Regions from separate parts of the Homo sapiens genome. Here region 2 is linked to region 1. The links are contacts of gene promoters, found by promoter capture Hi-C in blood cells and fetal thymus (Javierre and others, 2016). All regions are on one chromosome and are shown on one strand. Each heading gives the region's core, a stretch centred on a gene start or on the middle of the fragment in contact. The rest is flanking DNA. Distances are from core to core; before and after follow the strand shown.

The links. The method cuts DNA at HindIII sites, captures the fragments that hold promoters and counts their contacts. A CHiCAGO score of 5 or more calls a contact.
Region 2: the fragment with the promoter of FAM168A here is called in contact with the fragment with the promoter of ARHGEF17 in region 1 in 1 of 17 cell types (neutrophils); the score reaches 5.3 in neutrophils.

Annotation. Positions count from the first base shown.
Region 1 is chr11:73,304,500-73,310,019 of GRCh38, forward strand. ARHGEF17 (Rho guanine nucleotide exchange factor 17) reads left to right here and starts at 3,777. Exons shown (of 21, transcript NM_014786.4): 1 at 3,777-5,520. The coding sequence starts at 4,140. ARHGEF17-AS1 (ARHGEF17 antisense RNA 1) reads right to left here and starts at 4,862. Exons shown (of 3, transcript NR_147696.1): 1 at 4,173-4,862; 2 at 3,383-4,065; 3 at 3,012-3,057. RefSeq lists silencers at 3,149-3,288, 3,689-4,018, 4,249-4,468 and enhancers at 3,889-4,766, 4,772-5,520. The HindIII fragment of the contact is 10,810 bases long and covers 1-5,520 here.
Region 2 is chr11:73,594,778-73,600,378 of GRCh38, forward strand. FAM168A (family with sequence similarity 168 member A) reads right to left here and starts at 3,335. Exons shown (of 8, transcript NM_015159.3): 1 at 3,146-3,335. RefSeq lists an enhancer at 2,669-3,397 and silencers at 3,289-3,418, 3,549-3,778. The HindIII fragment of the contact is 4,267 bases long and covers 2,557-5,601 here.

The sequences.
Region 1 (5,520 bases), core at 2,527-5,026:
GTATAATGAGATGTGAATTATTTTAAAGGTCCTAGTTGTATTGTTTTGTTTTTTGGCGAAAGCCAATTAAATAACTGATGAGAATGTATCATTATCAAAATATTATAAAGAATTTAATCCTGTGTGCTTAAGGTCTAATTATATAGGAAAGGGGGCAATCTCAGATAGTTTCTATTTGGCTTTGCAATGGAGTCAGAAGAGTCAGATTTCCCCCTAAGACAGCTCCTTCATGGAGCTCATTGCTTCTTGTCCCCGCACTCATCATTTCTCTCCCTCTTAAGTACAGTTGCTCCTCGACTTACGATGAGGTTACATCCCAATAAACCCACTGAAAATATTATAAGTCAAAAAGACATTTAATACACCTAGCCTACCAAACATCAGAGCTTAGCCTAACCCACCTTAAACAGGCCCAGAACACTTCCATAGCCTAGAGTTGGACAAAAATCATCTAACACAAAGCCTATTTTATAATAAAATGCTGAATATCTCATGTAATTTATTGAATACTGAAAGTGAAAAACAGAATGATTATATGTGTGCTCAAAGTATGGTTTCTACTGGATGTACATAGCTTTTGCATCATCATAAAGTCAAAAAATCATTAAGTTGAAATATCATGAGCTGGGGACTTATCTGTACCCGAAGCCCACCAAAGCCCATCACTGGCCATGACCTGTGACCTTCAAAACCTTCCCATCTTGATTTCCCCAAGGGATTCCACGGTCCTCACCTCACTAGATCACCATGACTCACTGGGTAGATGGGCTATTGTTTTCATTACCCTTTCATAGGTGAGGAGCCTGGGGCCCAGAGAAAAGGGGGTGAGCTGCGGAAGGTGAGCCTGGCTTCAAAACCCCAGCGTAGGGTTTCTCTCCACTCTGGTGCCCAGTGCTCCCAGCCCCCTATCAAATAAGTCTTCTTGGGGCTAAAAATTGCTGTACATAATTACCAAGCACCATTAAAATTCCAGATCTCTTCTGTTCATGGAAGATAACTTTGTCTTATACTGGATCATAAGGAGCTGGGGGTGGGAGGGTTCCTGAAGCACTGGAAGCAATCAAGCCACTCTCAGATTGGGTGAGCTTCCCTTTGGACAGAGACCCAGTCTAGATCCTTAAACACCCCCCTCCCCACCAAGGGGATTCCTGAGCCAAAGGCCCCAGCCAGCTCACCTCAAGGCCAAGCCACAGGACTCTGGGAGCCCATGACCTGAACCTCCACTCCTCTCTATCCACTTGCCCATCTGTGATATGGGATAAGGGTTTCTGTCCCAGAACTGACAGGGAGGTGGAAAAGTACAAATTTCAGATAGTAAGAGTCATCATTATGGGGGGAGAGAGTGACTCCTGGGATGAGAGTCCTGTCCCCCACCCCTCCACAACCCACCCCTCCACAACTCACCCCTCCACAACTCACCCCTCCCCAACTCACCCCTCCACAACTCACCCCACAGCACACACCAAAACTTGCCCCAAAGAGCAGAAAGAAAATACTAAAGGAGGTGAGAGTCTGACATCAAATGCCAGAGCCAGAGAGGGCACTCTTGGGGAACCTGAACCACTCCTCACTTTTCAGACACCCCACTCCTCACTTTTCAGACACCAGCAAGTGCAGGGATTTACCCAAGGTCACAGAGTAAGGCCGAACAGAGAGGCACAGGCCAGCAGGGCTCTCTTTTATCAATTTCCTAGAGAAAAGGGAGAGATTTACTCCTTGGCCCCCTTGAGGCAGAGCTGAGATGAGGTTGAGGTGAGGGACTCCCTGGATGCTGGTCTCAACACAGAGAGGAAGCACTTTCTTGCTACAGAGATATTCCACAACTCAAGAGGCTGCCCAGAGAGTGGAGAGTGACCTCCTCATCCTGTGGGGTATATGAGTAGCAAGCAGGTTCTGGAGTCCCGGCTGAGTCCTCTCTCTCTCATTCGGTAGTCAGGCAATCCCTGGGTGTCTACCATCCTTTCCTATCCTCCTGCCTGCCCCTCTCCTCTGAACCCCGTCTCCTAGCCTAGTCTGGCCCAGCTACATCTCCTTGGCTGGACCTGGTGGCAGTGGGGTTGGCTGGGTAATGCACAGACTGCTGACCTAACTATGTGTCCCCGAGGCCTTGCTACTGGGGGTTGGAGGGGCCAGGGCAGTTTGACCAGGCCTGAAGAAGGCTGGGCAGCGCTGGAGGGGCATGGGTCAGACCAGGTTATCCTCTGTTCCTGAGGAGAGTGAGCTCAGGCCCAAGGAGGAGAAGGAGGAGACTGGGGGCTCAAAGGAACGAGAACCTCCTTCTTCATCAGGATTTGGGGGTGCATCTCAGAGCTGGCTGGAGGAGCATGGTGTTTGAAGCCCCTGAAATCTGAATTTTAGCAGGAGCTGCTATTTCCTGACTTGCATAGTGGTCAAAGTTACTTCTCCTTCACGGTCCACAGAGAAGGGGTAATAATATTTGTCCCCAAGGGTGGTTTGTGGATTTTAAAAAATAAGTTAAATAATATTGCCCATACATTATAGGTACTCCATACATTTTCATTCGTTCGTTCATTCGTTAGTTGGGCCGGGAGGATGAATGGGATCTAGAGGCAGGTGGGAATGCGGAAGGGGATGATGCCCCAATACCGAGAACAATGTGAGACTCAGACGGAGGCAGGGGCGGGAGGGGAGCTCAAGCGAGGGATCAGCGTGAAGCCAGAGAAACAACCGACACTTTTCCTGCCAAGAAGGTGAAGCAGCTGCGGGTAAGAGTATAGGTTTGGCAGTGGGAAGTCGAGGGCGTTCCCGTCGAAGCTCCTTTTGTGTATAAGGCCTAAGAAGGGGCAGTGCGCTTTGCGAAGGTCTGAAAAAGACTAAGGGGATTAGGTAACGACTGAAAGGAAGTTTTCACAACTCTCCGTTTTTGGGGGATGGGTGCTGCTTTATCCGTCCAGGACTCCGTGCGTTGGGAAAATCACGCCGCGAGGGGGCGCAAGAGCCGCGTACTCCAGAGCAAGAAGAAAAGGCTCGGGGATCCAGGCGGAGAGTCCAGGAGAAGAGCCGCCAGACTGCAGGGGCAGGTGGAAGGCGTGGCAGCTGGAAAAGTAGGGGTGGGGGCGCGGTCGTGAAGGGTGGGACTTCTGGAGCAACGCTGGGCGGGTTGGGGGCCGGTCGGAGCCGGACAGGCGGCTGGGAGGTGGGATGGGCGGGGCGCTTGGGAGCGAGATGGGGGGACAAGGGCGTGGCTACAGCTAAATTCGCCGCAGAGGGCGGGCGGGGAGGGGGAGGGAAGGGGAGGAGGCGTGGCCTGGGCGGGGAGTAGGGCGCGACGGACCCTTCAGTTAGCCCGCGGCTCCCCGGGCTCTCCCTGGCGCCGAGTCCCACCCCTTTCCCGGCCCAGAGAGTGTGCGTCTGCGTGCACCTGAGTGTCAGTGTGTACGAGAGTTTGTGAGTCCGAGGTTGCCATGTTGGAGCCCCTGGGCAGGAGGTGTTTCCGCGCGGAGGCTGGTGGCCCGCGGTGGACGCGGCGCCCTGGCTGCGAGTCTGCGGAGCTGAGCACGCTCAGCGGTTGTGTGTGTCTCAGCGACTCCCTGGGGGCAGCTCGGCCTGCTGGGCTCCCGAGGGACCTCTCTGGAGGGCCAGAGGGTCGCCTCAGTCTGCAAGTCCTCCAGCAGGCTTTTTCTTCTTCGGCTCCTCCCTGATTCCCTCCCACCACGCGGTTCCCAGGCTCGCGCACGCCCGGAGCCCACCCCCTCTTTTGGGCGCGAGGCCCCGCCCCCCGCCCCCTTGCCTCTGCCGCAAAGTTTATTTGCAACAAAAGGGTGCCAGGAGCGAGCAGCCAAGGGCGTTGGGCAGGCGGACGCAGAGTCGAGGAACCAAGCGCTGGGATCCCGCCCAGGCGGTGCCGCGGTGCCCCTGGTCGCTCCAGCCGCGGCGGGGGCTGGGCCTGGGGGTCGGCGCTGAGGCGGGAGGGGCCGCCCGGGATGGAGACGTTGCGGCCGGTGGCCACAGAAACTTGAGCCGCGGCAGAGAAACCTCTGCTCCGGTCTCTGCGTCCTCTTCCCACACTCCCGTGCGCTGCTTTCGGCGTGGGCCGCTGCGCTCCTAGGGAGTGGGGGCGCAGGGGGGGTTGGCCGCGGCTGCCCGAGGCCAGCCCCCCCGGAGTGAGTTACGCCACTATGGCGGACGGGGCACCCCGGCCCCAGCTTTACCGCAGCGTCTCGTTCAAGCTGCTGGAGCGCTGGAGCGGCGGCCCCGGGCTGAGGGAGGAGGACACGGACACCCCCGGCTTGAGGCGACGCGCCTCGTGCCGGCCGACCACGGCTGCCCGGGGCCAGCCCTCTCGGCGCGTGTCCAAGCTGGCGTCTGGGCCCCTGGCCGCCCCCGCGCAGCCGCGCCCGCTCCGCAGCCTCTCGCCGTCGGTTCGCCAGCTCTCCCGGCGCTTCGACGCGCCGCGTCTGGACGACGGCTCCGCTGGGACCCGAGACGGAGGCGTCTTACCCGCGGCCGCGGAAGAAGCGGCCGAGGGCCCAGCGCGAGGAGCCTGGCCCAGCGTCACCGAGATGCGCAAGCTCTTCGGCGGTCCTGGCTCCAGGAGGCCCAGCGCCGACTCTGAATCCCCAGGAACGCCCAGCCCCGACGGTGCCGCGTGGGAGCCTCCGGCTCGGGAGTCGCGGCAGCCACCGACGCCACCCCCTCGGACATGCTTCCCCCTGGCGGGTCTGCGTTCGGCGCGGCCCCTGACCGGGCCGGAGACCGAAGGGAGGCTGCGCCGGCCGCAGCAGCAACAGGAGCGGGCGCAGCGTCCAGCGGATGGTTTACATTCTTGGCATATCTTCTCCCAACCGCAGGCCGGGGCCCGGGCCTCCTGCTCCTCCTCCTCCATCGCCGCCTCCTATCCTGTCAGCCGCAGTCGTGCTGCCAGCTCCAGCGAGGAGGAAGAGGAGGGCCCGCCGCAGCTGCCTGGAGCCCAGAGTCCGGCCTACCACGGCGGCCACTCCTCGGGCAGTGACGACGACCGAGACGGTGAGGGCGGCCACCGCTGGGGAGGGAGGCCCGGGCTCAGGCCTGGAAGCTCCCTATTGGATCAGGACTGCAGGCCTGACAGTGATGGGTTAAATCTAAGCAGCATGAACTCAGCAGGGGTTTCTGGGAGCCCTGAGCCCCCAACATCTCCAAGAGCCCCTAGAGAAGAAGGACTCCGGGAGTGGGGTAGTGGCTCTCCGCCCTGCGTCCCAGGTCCCCAGGAGGGACTTCGGCCTATGTCTGACTCTGTGGGAGGAGCTTTCCGTGTGGCCAAGGTGAGCTTTCCCTCGTACCTGGCCAGCCCCGCAGGCTCCCGCGGTAGCAGCCGTTATTCCAGCACGGAGACCCTCAAGGACGACGACCTATGGTCTAGTAGGGGTTCTGGGGGCTGGGGCGTGTACCGCTCCCCTAGCTTTGGAGCTGGGGAAGGGCTCCTGCGGTCCCAGGCTCGAACCCGTGCCAAAGGACCTGGAGGCACCTCTAGGGCATTGAGGGATGGAGGATTTGAGCCTGAAAAGAGTCGACAGCGGAAGT
Region 2 (5,601 bases), core at 2,085-4,584, 290 kb after region 1:
CTCGGCCTCCCAAAGTGCTGGGACTACTGGCGTGAGCCACCACGCCTGGCCATCTGAAAGGTTTTTAATGACTTGACTGAAATCACTCAGCTTTCAAGTAGTAGAACTGGGATTTGAATCTGGGACTCAACTCCTAAACTCATGGGCTATTCGTTCCACAAAGGCTTCTGTCTATCAATACCTCCATCTGCTCTCTTCTCACCAAGATATCGGGAGGATCAAATGAGGTAAAGATACAAAAACACATTACTACTACACAGGTAACCACGGCTGTGGAAAAAAAAAATCCACCAACACATTTCTCCCAGGCACTTTTCATTTTGGGCTTTCAAAAGCTAGGGCTTTAATATAAACATCCCACCTCTAGACCAAGCCTGCAGATCTGCAAAAACAACGTCTAGACCTCAGAGTAAAGTTATGAGAGAAATGCTCACATTAGATTACAGTCTCACTGAATTACAGGTAACTGCTCAAACCTGATCTTTATTATAATACAGAAAGCTTCCTCATTACAAAACACTTTCAATTCAAAGGATAAGTCCAACGTTCCATCATTCTGCCCATTTTGGAGCTAAAAAAAAAAGATTCTAAATGGTATTTTTATATGCTCAATCGTGAAAGCCAAGGAAAATGGTTTGTTTGCGAGCTAAATTCTGAAGCTTGAACAAAAATAAAAAGAATTATTTCGATCCCAATGGTGCCAATTTTATCTTCTTTACATCCCTCCTCATTTTTTTTCAGTCTGAGCTCTAATCAACAGCCACTTTATGTTTAACATATTATCACAGTTAATGCAATTAGGTCCATAGAACTGTTTCTCTAAAGATGTTCCCTCCATTTGCACTCCTGTGTACCTTCCATTATCATCGTTCTGCCCTAAGAATGAGCATATCGCTAAGGTTTAAATCGAATTTCTGATGAATAGGTGGAGATGCTGTTTCTGTAGTTAATACAATGCGACTACATCAACATCATTCCCCAAAAAATAAAATAAAAATGACTCAATATGCTTTATTTATTCACATCTGACAGAATTCTGATCACCTGAATTCCTTTGGAAGAAAATTCAATCTTTAGAAATACAGTCCAATTATTCTAAATCTTATCAATGTCAAAAGACAATCATATGAAAAACTCCATCAGTACCAAACCATCTCACCAATGAATATTTATGACATTTCCATATTTCCTGTCTTCTCTGTTTACATAAAGCGGTGGTGCCAAGACTCATCTCAGGATTATTAGCCTGCAATACAATGATGGGCCTAATTGCCTTGCAAACCAGGACACTAACAAATGGCGTCTTCAAGCAATCAATTTAAAGAGGGGGTAAAAAAGGCCCAAGCTCTTTTTGCCTATGTGCTTGTTACCTACCTACAAAATAAATTCAGTCTCATATTTTTCAGGCTCACTCATTAGTTCTCAAGCAAGGAATGCACCCTTAACAATCTCAAGCTCATCAAATCTATTTAAATTTCAAAATGCCTGGCTAGTTTTTAAATACACCAGGAGGAGAGGGGAAAAGAAAAGGCAGAGACATCATATAGAAAGATATCCATTACATTCCAGTTTATCTTCTCCCACCTTTAGTTTGGAAGTATGCTTTTTTCCCCCAACTTACTTTTTATGATATACAAATAACAGAAGACACCCTCCCCTCCTTAATTCTACCTTAACTAAATCCCCTTTCAACTTTACCCTTTGGGCTGACTTGACTTCCAAATTTTACTAATATAAATAAAACAAACAAAAACATCACCCGAACAGATTAAAATGGCCCCTAAGAATGAGAAGGTCTCTTCCGTGTCCCCTGCAAAGTCCCCTCTAACAGCCTTACTGCCTCTCACCCAACCACAGCCACCAAGGCTGTTCATTTAAGTATTCCAACCCTTAACCCTCATGTGTCTCTTGGAGGCCACCCCAATCCTTCACCACCAAAATAATCCAACCCAATTCCCCCCTGCTCTCCAGCACAGCTCACTGTCCCTCTCCATCCTCTCTGCCCCATCCATACCAACAGCTCCAGGTCTCCCATTCCTTAAATTTCCCCTGTGCCACCTCACCATCAGCAACCACCTCCCCAGGCCTACCAGCTCATCTCCGAAAGTCCTTCTCCAAAACTCCCTCTGCCACCTTGGCCAAGGGATATTTTCTTCAAGATACCATCCCCCAACTTTGCTCACCCCTGCCGCTATCCTTTCAATGAAAGCAGCCCAGTGATGTTTTATGTGCCCTCTGCCTTGACTCTGCAACCAAGGAGCCACCATGCCCTTTCCAGTGATTGTAAGATCACCCTAAATCCAACCCACTGTGCCCCACACTCCATTTCCATCCCTGTCCTCCCATTTCGGGCCTGACTTCCAATGTGGCCCCTTCCTGCCAGCTCACCATCACACTCCCCTCACTGAATGTCCCACCTCCACCAACTCCTATTCCAACCTCCATCAGCCCACCCCAGGAAACCCCCAAATTGCACTCTTCTGCTCTATCCTAACCCATGCTATTCCATAAGTCTCCACAAATTCCACCAGCCCCAGATGACAAACACCCACTTCAAGCTTGGGTCTCAACCCATGCCAAGCCCCTCACCCCCAACTCCTGCCACCTCCATCATCCTGCCCCAGGTCCACCCCAAATTCCACCCTTCTGAATTAACACTACGCAGGGCCCTAACCAACCCTGTACATGCCACTCACTCTCCGTTGAAATCATTCCCCTGCCCCTCACCCCAGCTCAGATCCCAAGCTGTCAACTGCTCCAGGCCAAACCCAAATCACCACCCTCATTCAGTCCCCTCCCCCATTAAAAGCCATCCCACCCTAGTCTCATCTTCCACCTCGCCCCAAGACCATCCCGAATTCCAACCCGACGCCCCCACCCCACTCTCCTGTCCCAGGTTGGGTTATTCTCCATCAAAAGTCCTCCTCCCTTGTCGCCCGCCCCCCAACCTGCTTGGGTCCCACCCTCACCCCACCCCCGGCCAGCGCCTGGACAAGTCTCCCCCGCCAGCCCGCCGTTCCATCGCGACCTCAACCCCCTCCCCCCAACCTGCACGGGGGCTCCGCAGCCTCCCCTCTCATTCTCGCCAGCGCCACCGGCCCAGACTCAGGACCAGCGGACCCTGTGGCGGGGGGAGTCTCCTCACCGGTGAGCAGCTGCAGGCGAAAACGGCGGCGGCGGCGGCTGAGGCGGCGATGCCCTTGTCTTCTCCGGAGGCTACGGCGGCGACGCTCTCGCCCGTGTCCAGTAGGGTGGCGGATGGCGCGCGGGGACCGGAGCCTCCTCCTCAGCGACTCGGCTCTGAATCCTCTGCAGTAGCCGCCGAGGAGCCCGACGGGTGGGGGGAGGGGACGCTCGGCTGCGGGCGAGGGAGGAGGAGGCGGAGGGAGGAGGCGGGGGACCGCTCAGAAGGGCAGGGAAGGAGGAGCCGGCGCGGCGCCGCGACACGTCCCACAGCCTCAGAGCGCCGGGACCACAACTCCCGGCATGCCCTGCTTTAGCCCGCGCGCGGCCTGCGCCTCCCGCCGCGAGCCCGGTGCAGAGGGGCCGCGCCCTCTCCGGTCACGGACAGTGGAATAAAGCCAACCATCCGCTGGCGAATTTTGTAGACTCAAAGACCACCTGTGAGGAAAGTCAGGTCGCCCGAGGCCCCATCCCCAAGGGGCCGTACTCGCAGCGTCTCCATCCTCTTTGCATAGACACCCCCCTCCCCCCGCCCACACACACACACACACTCTCTGTCTCTCCCTCTCTCCCTCTCTCCCTCTCTCCCTCTCCCTCTCGTCTCTGTCTCTGGACTACACCTCCCAGCATGCCCCTCAGCTTCCTATTCTCCTTCCGGACCCTTCTCAGACCCGGTACTACAGTTCCCAGGGAGTGTGGTCCCTGCGAAATGCTGGGAGATGGAGTTCTCGGTTCTTCCTCCATGTTAAGAAAAAGAAGTGAAAGAGAGGCAAAAGGGAAGGAATACGCCAGCCCACCGAGGATGGGCCTTGATGGGCTAGATCACCTGTGATTCTGTTCATCCCTCGCCATCTCCGTTTCAGCTGTCTCTCACCAGAACTAATGCCGGAGCTTCCTCGCTGGTCTCCCTGCAAATTTGAGGACGATTCGGCAACTTGAATCCAAACGACAAAGGGCATATCCTCTTCTTGACCCAGCTCCATTACTTTTAAGAATTTACCTTAAAAAGATGATCGAACAATTTCGAAAAGATGAATGCACAAAGTTGTTATATGACGTAGTTAATTATGAAGGGAGTAAATGTTCATCGATAGGGTGCTGCTTAAATAAGACGTGACATATACATACAATGCAATACTAAGGAGCCATTTAAAATGATATAAATCTATTGACATGAAAAGCTATTCACAATTTATTCTTCGGGGAAAAAGTTGATTACACAACAGCATGTCTACACGAGTGCATTTATGTGAGGTTTGACACAATATTCTACAAGCATGGAGAGATTTCAGGAAAGAGGTTCGCCAAAATATTAGCAATGATTATCTTGGGGGAAAGGGTGTCAGATTGCACGTAGGTTTTTTTTGTTTTTTGAGACGGAGTCTGGATCTATAGCCAGGCTGGAGTAAAGTGGGGGCGATCGCAGGTCACTGCAACCTCTGCCTCCCGGGTTCAAGCGATTCTCCTGCCTCAGCCTCCTGAGTAGCTGGGACTACAGGCGCGCGCCACCACATCCAGCTAATTTTTGTATTTTTAGTAGAGATGGGGTTTCACTATATTGGCCAGGATGGTCTCGATTTCTTGACCTCCTGACCTGCCCGCCTCAGCCTCCCAAAGTGCTGGGATTACAGGCATGAGCCACAATGCCCGACTGTAATTTTTGTTTTCATATTGTTTGAATTGTTTAAAAGGAGCACATAACGACTGTTTTTTGTTTTCTTTTTTGTTTTGTTTTAATTGTAAGAGACGTCGTCTCACTATATTGCCCAGGCTGGTTTCAAACTCCTGGCCTCAAGAGACCCTCCTGCCTCAGCTCTCAAAAGTGCTGGGATTACAGGTGTGAGCCACACTACACCTGGACAATTTTTTAAGCTGTGCTACTTCCAAAAAACATAATTTCCAAATCTAACAACCTTTCTTTGCTGCCTAGATGCTTTCCATGGCTTCCCATTGTCTCATTCATGCTTCAGCACTGTGCCTGCCTGGTTTTAATAGTTCCACTATTAAAACAAATAATAGTAGTCACTTCCAATTCATAAAGTTGGAAGGGAGAATTTTCTCAATTTTCAATGCGTCTTCTCAAAATTTTTCCATTTCTGGTCTTTCCACACCCATTTTCTCCTTTTCTCTTACTCATTCTTCAAACTCAAGCCAAAGTCCTACCTTCCCTAGAACATATTTTAGACACACTGGTTTTCCTTATATCTGAATTCTTTTTTGTTTGTTTGTTTGTTTGTTTGTTTGTTTGAGACAGAGTCTTGCTCTGTCAGCCAGGCTGGAGTACAGTGGTGCAATCTCGGCTCACTGCAACCTCCGTCTCCCGGGCTCAAGCAATTCTCCTGCCTCATCCTTCCGAGTAGCTGGGATTACAGGCATGTGCCACCATGCCTGGCTAATTTTTTTTTGTATTTTTAGTAG